Regions from separate parts of the Homo sapiens genome. Here all the other regions are linked to region 2. Evidence: promoter capture Hi-C in human tissues and cell types (Jung and others, 2019). All regions are on one chromosome and are shown on one strand. The core of a region is centred on a gene start or on the middle of the fragment in contact, and the rest is flanking DNA. Distances in the headings are between cores, read along the strand shown. Region 1 holds the start of ZNF559 (zinc finger protein 559). Region 2 overlaps LOC105372269 (a long non-coding RNA gene). Region 3 holds the start of OR7D4 (olfactory receptor family 7 subfamily D member 4).

What was found. The method cuts DNA at HindIII sites, captures the fragments that hold promoters and counts their contacts. A contact is called where the count stands out against the background at its distance.
Region 1: the fragment with the promoter of ZNF559 here is called in contact with a fragment that was not itself captured in region 2 in 3 of the 25 tissues and cell types used here (H1 embryonic stem cells, dorsolateral prefrontal cortex and neural progenitor cells).
Region 3: the fragment with the promoter of OR7D4 here is called in contact with a fragment that was not itself captured in region 2 in 2 of the 25 tissues and cell types used here (dorsolateral prefrontal cortex and spleen).

The regions. Positions count from the first base shown.
Region 1 is chr19:9,322,371-9,325,665 of GRCh38, reverse strand. It overlaps ZNF559 (zinc finger protein 559), which reads right to left and starts at 1,487. Exons shown (of 7, transcript NM_032497.3): 1 at 1,438-1,487; 2 at 886-971. It overlaps ZNF559-ZNF177 (ZNF559-ZNF177 readthrough), which reads right to left and starts at 1,487. Exons shown (of 13, transcript NM_001384659.1): 1 at 1,438-1,487; 2 at 886-971. RefSeq lists a silencer at 1,084-1,223 and an enhancer at 1,394-1,643. The HindIII fragment of the contact is 8,356 bases long and covers 1-3,295 here.
Region 2 is chr19:9,456,053-9,459,485 of GRCh38, reverse strand. LOC105372269 (a long non-coding RNA gene) reads right to left here. Exons shown (of 3, transcript XR_007067133.1): 2 at 1-3,433. It also overlaps a transcript of ZNF560 not described here. Among named protein-coding and RNA genes, the nearest start is that of ZNF266, 22 kb to the right of the region's middle. The HindIII fragment of the contact is 4,913 bases long and covers 1-3,433 here.
Region 3 is chr19:9,218,102-9,221,287 of GRCh38, reverse strand. It overlaps OR7D4 (olfactory receptor family 7 subfamily D member 4), which reads left to right and starts at 1,699. Exons shown (of 2, transcript NM_001005191.3): 1 at 1,699-2,088. It also overlaps a transcript of OR7E24 not described here. The HindIII fragment of the contact is 21,358 bases long and covers 286-3,186 here.

The DNA.
Region 1 (3,295 bases), core at 238-2,737, 130 kb after region 2:
TACAGGTGCCCACGCCCGGCTAATTTTTTGTATTTTGAGTAAAGACGGGGTTTCACTATGTTGGCCAGGCTGGTCTCAAACTCCTGACCTCGTGATCCGCCAGCCTCAGCCTCCCAACATGCTGGGATTACAGGCGTGAGCCACCACACCTGGACTAAAGACATTTGTTTTACTCGAGCTACAGATGTTCTCTAGATCAGTATTTGTTTTTTTTTCTTCTTTTTGAAACAGGGTCTCACTCTGTTGCCTAAGCTGGAATGCAGTGACACAATAATGGCTCACAGCAGCCTCGACCTCCCATGCTCAAGTGATCCTCGCATCTCGGCCTCCAAAGTGGATGGGACCACAGACACCACCATGCCCAGCTAATTTTTTATTTTTAGTAGAGACAGAGGCTTGCCCTATTTTTTCCAGGTTGGCATCAAATTCCTGGGCTCAAGCGATCCTCCAGCCTCAGCCTCCCAAAACGCTGGGATTACAGGTGTGAGCCACCTTGCCCCGCCCTCAGTAAGACTTTCAAATGAGTAACTGGTAGAAAACCCACCTGTCAAAAGTTATCTTCGCATTCATTATCAATTCAATCCCTCCTGCTAGTAAATCAGCCCGCACCGTGTTCCTGGGGATGCCCTCGTTTTGAACCTCTGGGGGAATCTACAGGGCGCTAGAGTGAGATCTAGGTGATGGCCTGGAACCACAGTTGAGTAGTCCTGTGTTTTTCCTTGGTGGTAAATTTTACAGTTATGTGCATTCATCCACTCATGCATTCGATGGTATCAGATCCATGTGCTCTCGAACAACCACCTGAAAAGGTTTCTTTCCACCTCGACACAACTTAAACTTCAAGACCCGACACCCACAGCCAGAACAAGTGCATGAAGTGCTCACCGGGACACGACAGAATTGTCAGGTTGCTGAGGCCAGGAGGACACCAAGCGAAGGTCACCGTGAACAGGAAGGCAGAGATGCTGTTCCTTATAGAGAAAAGGCACAACGCTGGATGTGGAGACTTTTTTTTTTTTTTCCATTAGAGATGGTTGGGGGGGGGGGTCTCCCTATGTTGCCCTGCCTGGTCTTGAACTCCTGGCCTCAAGTAATCCTCCTACCCAATCCGCCCAAAGCGCTGGGAATGACAGGCGTGAGCCGCCGCGCCGGGCCCTATGAGGCTTCTGCAGAGGGGAGCAGGGAAAATGGAAAGGCCGTGCCCCCCGCCTCCTCCCGGGCCGAGGCCCCAGCGCAGCCGCCTCGACCCCTGAGGACAGACCTGACTGTGGCTCTCAGAGGAGGGGCCGCGACTTGGGAGAGCCCACAAGATGCTCGAAATGCCCGAAAGTGCACGGGACAGGCTCCATTTCACTGGGCACCTCCCCTTTCCACCCTTCTACTCTCGCGTGGCTGCACCGGGACACCACCGAACGCCGCCCAGAAACAAAAACTTACCTCAGACGCCAACGGGAACGCGCTGTTAAGATGGCGGCCGTTATGCGCATGCGCCCACGCAGACACGCCGCGCACGCGCAAAGGCTAGGACCACCTAGGGGGCGGGGCCTCGGGTTCCCGGGCCCATCAGCTGCTGCGGCTTTTTCCAACCCAGAGCTGAGAGGAAATGCTGTTTACCTCCCCGAAGAGCGCAAGTGTCACCGGTAGGGGGTCTTGACTGCAAGCTGTCCAGGTTACTGGCGTTTTGAACAAAGAATTAGACAAAACGCCCAGCAAAGCAAAGAAAGAATGAAGCAACAAAAGAACAAGAGCTGGGATTTGTTGAAAACGAAAGCATACTCCACAGTGTGGGAACTGGCCAAGCGGCAGCTCAAGGGCTCCGAAACAGAACCTTCATGAGTCCCAATACCTCCTAGAATTTTCCCATTGGCCACTTCATGCTCACCTCCTGTAAATGAAGCGGTAGCCCGCGTTCAGTCTGATTGGTTGCAGAAAGCAGCCAACCAGAGTCTGAAGTTACAAAGGTCACACTCCTGTGCAAACATCTGATTGGTTGCAAAAAGCAACCAATCAAAGGCTAGGGTGAAGTTACGACGTTACAAAGTTACACTTCTATGCAAATGAAGACTCAACCGGCCATCAGTCTGATTTGTTGCAGACAGCCAATTTCCTATCTGCCAGCAGAAAAGGTCAAAGGGAGTAGCCTCTGGTCCTTTTGTTATTTAGGCGAGGAAAGTGAGGGTTTTCCTTTCAATTTAGTTCTAGGAAGTCGGCCTGAAACAGCCTTAAGTTCCCTGCCTCCCGACTCTATTCAGCCTCACAAGGGCTTGATTTTTGGTCATCTCACACTCAGAGACTAGAATGCTCCTATTGGAATTTGTTCAAAAATTAGCACATAGAGGCTGGGCCTGATGGCTCACGCCAGTGATCCCAGCACTTTGGGAGGCTGAGGCAGGCAGACCACTTGAGCTCAGGAGTTCGAGACCAGCCTGGGCAATATGGCAAAACCCTATTCCTATAAAAAAGACAAAAAACACAAAAATTAGGACGTAGTTAAGAGCATAGATAAGATTCATGCGGACTTCCTAAAAGTGAAAACACCAAGATCTGGGGTCGGGGAATCTAAGGCCAATTCGTGATAATTTCCTAAAGTTAAATCAAAGGAAAAACACCTGGGGCTGGGGGCAGGGCACCTAAGGCCAATTAACACAAACTTCCTGAAGCTAAACCAAAAGGAAAAACCCCATCTCCCCAAGATCAAAGACTACTCTCTCTACAGTAAAAAGTAAAGTAGAGGTTCCTCTTCAAAGACTTTCCTGCCCATCTAATTAGGAATAAATAGTAACTTCTGTTAGAAGCAAAATTTATTCAAAGACCTGTACTAATGTGTCCGGAATTGGTGGGTTCTTGGTCTCACCGACTCCAAGAATGAAGCCGGGGACCCTCGTGGTGAGTGTTACAGATCTTAAGGTGGCACGTCTGGAGTTTGTTCCTTCTGATGTTCGGATGTGCTCGGAGTTTCTTCCTTCTGGTGGGTTCGTGGTCTTGCTGGCTCAGGAGTGAAGCTGCAGACCTTCGCGGTGAGTGTTAGAGCTCTTAAAGCGGCGCGTCTGGAGTTGTTCATTTCTCCCGGTGGGCTCGTGGTCTCGCTGGCTTCAGGAGTGAAGCTGCAGACCTTCGCGGTGAGTGTTACAGCTCATAAAAGCAGTGTGGACCCAAAGAGTGAGCAGTAGCAAGAGTTATTGCAAAGAGTGAAACAACAAAGCTTCCACGGCGTGGAAGGGGATCAAAGCGGGTTACCACTGCTGGCTGGGGCAGCCTGCTTTTATTCTCTTATGTGGCCCCACCCACATCCTGC
Region 2 (3,433 bases), core at 910-3,409:
TAGTAGGGCTTTAGATGTCTCAATGGCACCCAAATTGGCTGTTGATTCAGTCCTTTAGAAACACAAGCATAACCTCTGCCCCATGTTATTATTTTACCTGTTTCCCAATCTTTTGTTATTGGGTCCTTTCCACCAAACCCATTGTTCCACTTCTGCCTTTGCAGCTGTCTTCTGTAAATGTTTTTCAGCTGCTGATAACAATCGGCCTTTAGGCAGGCTCAAAAAATTTAAAGTTAATAATGCTAGATTTAGTTGCATGTGTGGAGTCCTATAGTCACTGTCTCCCCCTTTCTGTTTTTGCAACTGCTGTTTTAGGGAGAGATTCATTCTTTCCACTATAGCTTGTCCTTGAGAATTATATGGGATACCAGTAATGTCTTCAATATTCCATATAGAGAAAAATGTAGCTAGAGCTTGGCTAGTATAGCTTGGGGCATTATCTGTTTTAATAGAAGCTGGAATGCCCATCACCACAAAACACTGCAAAAGGTGATGTTTAACACAGGCAGAAGACTCTCCTGATTGGCATGTAGCCCAGACAAAGTGAGAAAAGGTGTCTACACATACATGTACATAAGCTAGTCTCCCAAACGAGGGAACATGTGTGACATCCATTTGCCAAAGAGAATTAGGTTCCAATCCTCAAGGAATCATTTGGCAAGTTGGGCATCGCTGGTTAATAGCTTTAGCTTCTTTCCAGGTAATGCTGTATCTGTGTCTGAGACCAGAGACATTAACGTGTGTTAAATTGTGGAATTGTCTAGCATTAGATATTGCAGTAGCAACTAGGTGATCAGCCATTTGATTCCCTACAGTCAAAGGTCCTGGAAGAGGTGTATGAGCCCTAATGTGAGTGATGTAAAAAGGGTGCATTCTACTCCTAACTGCTGTTTGCAATTGGGTAAATAAAGTCATCAGTTGCTCTTATGTGTGGAATTGTAGCTGAGCATTTTCAACTAACTGTGTAGAACCACATATGAAGAATCAGAAATCATATTAATAGGCATATTAAAAGCAGTCAATGCCTCAATTACAGCCTCAAGCTCCGCTTTTTGAGCTGAAGTATAGGGCGTCTGAAAAACTTTACCTTTCAATCCAGAATAAGAGGCTTTACCATTACTAGACCCATCTGCGAAGACATTCTCAGTACCTTCAATTGGTTTGATTTAGTCATTTTAGGGAGAATCCAATTAGTTAATTTCAAAAAATTGAAACAGTTTCATGTTAGGAAAATGGTTATTGAGAATACCCACAAAGTCAGCTAAATGGGTTTAACAAGTAAGACTATTTATAAAAGCTTGCTGTATTTGTGTCTTTGTGAGAGGGATAATAATTTTTCCAGGATCATATCCGTGTAATTTAACAATCCGAGTTCTCCCATTTCCTATCATAGTAGCAATTCGATCCAAATAAGGAGTCAAAGTCCGTGAATTAGTATATGGAAGGAAAAGCTACGCCACAAGATCTCGCTCTTGAACAATAACACCAGTAGGTGAATGCTGAGTTGGAAAAATGAGCAAATCTAGAGTATTCTCTAGATCTATTCTATTTATTTGGGCCTTATGGACTTGCTTTTCAATTAGCTGCAGCTCTGCCTCAGCTTCTTTTGTTAATTGCCAAGGGCTTGTGACACTAGGATCTCCTCTAAAGATAGAAAACAGAGTACTCATGGCATAAGTCAGAATGCCTAGAGCAGGCGGTATCCAATTAATATACCCTAGTAAATTTTGAAAGTCTGATTCAATGTTTTCTATTGATCCTACATATGGCTACTTTCTGTGGCATTATTGTGGTGACATTTACTAAGGCCCCCAAGTAGACGTAAGGAGTAGTAGTCTGAATTGCGTCAGGAGCTATAATTAAACTGGCATGAGAAATTGAATTCTCCAAGTGACCGTAACATTGGAGTAATATTTCCGGAGTGGGGGAAGCACAAAGAATATCATCCATATGATGAATAATGTAACACTGTGAAAATCTTTTATGAGTAGGTTCAATTGCTTGCCCTACATAAGTCTGGCAAATTGTTGGACTGTTTAACATGCCTTGTGCAACACTTTCCAATTAAAACGCTTAGCAGCCTGCAAGTTGTTTACCACAGGAATCGTAATTGCAAACTGTTCACAGTCCTGCTGAGCTAAGGGGATAGTAAAGAAACAAGTCTTTTAAATCTATGGCTATTAAAGGCCAATTTTTTGGAATCATAGCAGGAGAAGGCAGTCCTGGCTGTAATGCCCCAATAGGTTATATAGCTGAATTAATAGCCCTTAAGTCAGTTAACATTCTCCATTTACCTGGTTTTGTCTTAATTACGAAAACTGGGGAATTCCAAGGGGAGAGAGTTTGAGCTATATGTTCCTTTTGAAGCTGTTCTTTGACTAGTTCATTTAAAGCCTCCAGTTTCTCTTTACTCAGCGGCCACTGTTCTATCCATATTGGCCTGTCTGTCAGCCATTTTAACAGGATAGGCTCTGCAGGCTTACCATCAAAAATGGTATCCTAAGTCTTGGCGGGAACTTTGTCTTTCCGCTTGAAGAGATTCCTTCAAACCTTGCAAATTTTTTCCTAGTTCCATACCATGGACATACCCCATTTCATGCATCATATGTTGACTTTGAGGGCTGTATAATTGCTCAGGAATTAGAACTTGTGCTCCCCATTGTTGTAATAAATGTATGGGGGGAGAGCCCCCATAAATTTATAGGTATAGAAGTTATAATTGGTTGAATAGTCCCAGGTTGTCCATCGGGCCCTTTACAATGCAAAGTATAACTACTTTGATATACTTCAGGGGCTTTATCAACTCCAACTATGTTAAATTGAGCAGGCTGAATTGGCCATGCAGACGGCCAGTGATGTAGAGATATGATTGAAATGTCCACTCCTGTATCTACCAAACCTTTAAATTTCTTTCGCTGAATAGTTTTTTCACAGGTAGGATGGTTATCAGTAATTTGATTTACCCAGTAGGTGGCTCTCCCTTGTTTATTTGTACTGCCAAATCCCCTTGTTCTTTTAGTTTCACTTTTTCCTAGTCCCACATACGGTAAAATCAGAAGCTGCCCTATACGCTCTCCCGGTTCTGCCTTTTAAGGAACAGAGGTAGATATAACGATTTGAATTTCCCCGTTACAATCCAAATCAATTACTCCTGTATGAACCTGCACTCCTTTTAAATTTAAACTAGATCTTCCCAGAAGTAGTCCTACCATTCCTGCTGGCAGAGGTCCGCAGACTCCTGTTGGTACCTTCTGCAGTGGCTTTCCAGGCAGGAGACTCACAGCCCTGGTGCAACACAGATCTACTGAGGCACTACCAGCTGTGGCGGGGGACAAGCATTATACAGGGGTGAGGGAGTGGTCTGAGCCAGGAATGCCCTGGTTTGGAATGTGGCTCAGGATTGGCCCCTCATGGCGTTTCTCGAAATCGGGTT
Region 3 (3,186 bases), core at 450-2,949, 240 kb after region 2:
TACATTTTTTTTTTCTTGAGACGAGTCTCGCTCTGTCACCCAGGCTGGAGTGCAGTGGCGCGATCTCGGCTCACTGCAAGCTCCCCCTCCCGGGTTGAAGTCATTCTCCTGCCTCAGCCTCCCAAGTAGCTGGGACTACAGGCGCCCGCCACCACGCCCGGCTAATTTTTTGTATTTTTAGTAGGGACGGGGTTTCACCTTTAGCCAGGATGGTCTCGATCGCCTGACCCTGTGATCCGCCCGTCTAGGCCTCCCAAAGTGCTGGGATTACAGGCGTGAGCCACTGCGCCCGGCCCAACATACATTTTTAAAAGGTTTAACTTCACTAATCATCAGGGAAATGCAAATGAAAACCACAATGAGATATCACCTCACTTCATCTCAAATGGCTATTACTAAAAAGACAAAAGATAGTAAGTGCTGGCCAGGATATGAAGAAATGGAAACCCTTCTACACTGTTGGTAGGAATGTAAATTAGTACAACCATTATGGAAAAGAGTATGGAGGTTCCTCAAAAACTTAAAAATAGAACTACCATATGATCCAGCAGTCCACTACTGGGTATATATCAATAAGAAACGAAGTCAGTGTGTGGAAGGGATATCGCACTCCCATGTTTATTGGAGCATTATTCACAGTAGCCAAGACACAGAATCAACCTAGTTGTCTGCAAATAAATGAATGGATAAAGAAAATGTAGTATATATACACAATGGAATATGATTCATCCATAAAACACAAGGAAATCCTGTCATTTGCAACATGGATGAACTCAGAGAACATTGTGTTAAGTGAAATAAGGGAGGCACAGAAAGACAAATATCACATGATCTCACTCATATGTGGAATCTAACGAAGGTGATCTCAGAGAAATAGAATCCAGATTTCAAAGAAGTAGAATGTTGGTTACCAGACCCAGAGTGGTTTGGGGTTGAGGAGTAGTGTTGGTGTTGTGGAGATGTTAGTAAAAGAATACAAAATTACAGCTATATAAGAGAAGTAAGTTCAAGAGATCTATTGTACAGCAGGATGACTTTAGTTAATGATGATATATATGATATTCTTTGAAAATGCTAAGAGAGTGGATATTAAGTGTTCTCACCAGGATAACGACTCTGTGAGATAATGCGTATGTTAATTAGATACATTGAATGTCCACAATGTATATATATTTCCAAATATCAAGTTGTACATGATACATACATATAATTCTATAATTTAAAAAAATATATAAAAATAATTTGAAAAAATATTTAAAAAGAAAAGACATTTTTGTTTCCATGAATTTTCAACACCGAGGGATCCATAAAATCTCCAAAGACTCTTCAAGGGAGTCACATCGCTTGGAGATGATTCCTGAGTTTAGTTCCTTGCAGAAATTAATCTTTCCTTAGGGCAAAACTTGTGACTTTCAAATTAAACCGAAGAAAGAATTTCTTCTTGGGGGAAATAAATCCATCATGCCCTACCACTGCCTATTTCATCACAAAATTAACTGAAAAATTTCCATTCTATCATCTTCTTACTACTCAAAGGGAGCCAAACTCTTTGGAGAGTGGGAAGAAAATAGAACAATTTATTTAATAAGGTGCTCTGAGAATTCAACTCTTGAGACACTGGAAACTTAAAATGTGCCCCTGTTTAAACAACCTCACCTGTAATTCTCTGCTCCCAGCCTTTGGAAAAAACCCAGTACGGCTTCCTAGGAACAGATCGTGTAGAAGAGAAAACTTCAGTGATAACCATCAGAGTTAGTGTGACCCAGTGAGGGCTGGTGGGGTAAGAAGGAAAAGAGGAGAGAGAATAAGTACTAGCCTTCACAGTAATGAGCCTGGAAAGTCCCATACTTATTGAGTCTATGAAGGTGAAGTCCCTGTACTTTGATGGTACTTTAGTTTTCACAGAAACCAGTGTCTCCCACCTTCTGTTCTCACTCCTTGGAATCCAGGGCCCGTCTTTAATAAGTTATTTTCCGAACAGTCTCTAACTCTCCTGCACTCTTTCCTATAAACTTTAGTCTCCTGTTGAATTTCGTACATCCAGTTACTTATTCATTAACTACTCACGGAAGATCTACTATGCTCAAGGTATTGTCTATGTGTTCCTAATGTGATTGGATTTTTCTATTATATTCTATATTTTTCCTGGCAGATTATTGGTTACCAGACCCAGAGTGGTCTGGGGATTGGGGGTAGGGTTGATGTGGTGGAGATGGTGACTTATTTACAGCACTTACTAGCTGTTATGTTTTTGCTATTTCAACTTAGTATCCATGATATCATATAGAAATAATACAATTATTTCTGACATTCAACATGCAGTCCAATTTTTTTTCTCATATTAAAAATCCCTTGGCTGAACGTAGTGGCTCACATCTATAATCCCAGCACTTTGGGAGGCCGAGGCGGGCAGATCACTTGAGGCCAGGACCCTGAGACCAGCCTGGCTAACATGGCAAAACCCTGTCTCTACTAAACAATAACAAAAAAAGAAAGCCTGACACCTTAGCTTACACCTGCAATCCCAGTTACTCGGGAGACTGAGATGGGATAATTGCTTGAACCCAGGAGGCAGAGGTTGCAGTAAGCTGAGACTGCACCCCGCACTCCAGCCCAGGTGACAAAGTGACACCATGTCCCCCCCAAAAAAAAATCCATTTGCATGTTCACCAAAATATCAAAAGATTGAAATTGTAGTAGACGGCCTTTGGTGTATCCAGGAATTTAAACCCCTTACTGTTTTAACATAGCATATCTTGTTGCCTGTGGTATTAAAACAACCATTGTTTATCGGGTTAAGCAATTGTCCTTGGTTTCTTCCTTTATTGAGAGGATCTGCCCTGGTTGATAATCTTTTTCAAATGCATTTTTTCTATTGTGATTTTGTTTATGATTTCTCTTTACTGACCTGTTTTTGTGATGAATTATGCAGACATTCTTACATTAAACCTGCTTCCATTGTTAGAGCTGGTATTACTACTTCATTTATCATTATTTTAAAAGAGATATGAATATGTTATTTACTGTATTATTAAATTTATGTCTATATTCAAACATGTCTTAAACTTGAAGATTTCTATTTTGTGTTATAGTTGATGCTTTGGTCCCAGTCTTTATAGAACATTTCAATTTGTACTTGCTCAGAATCAGTAATGTGCTGGGCACCACGTAAATCCTTGTTAAATG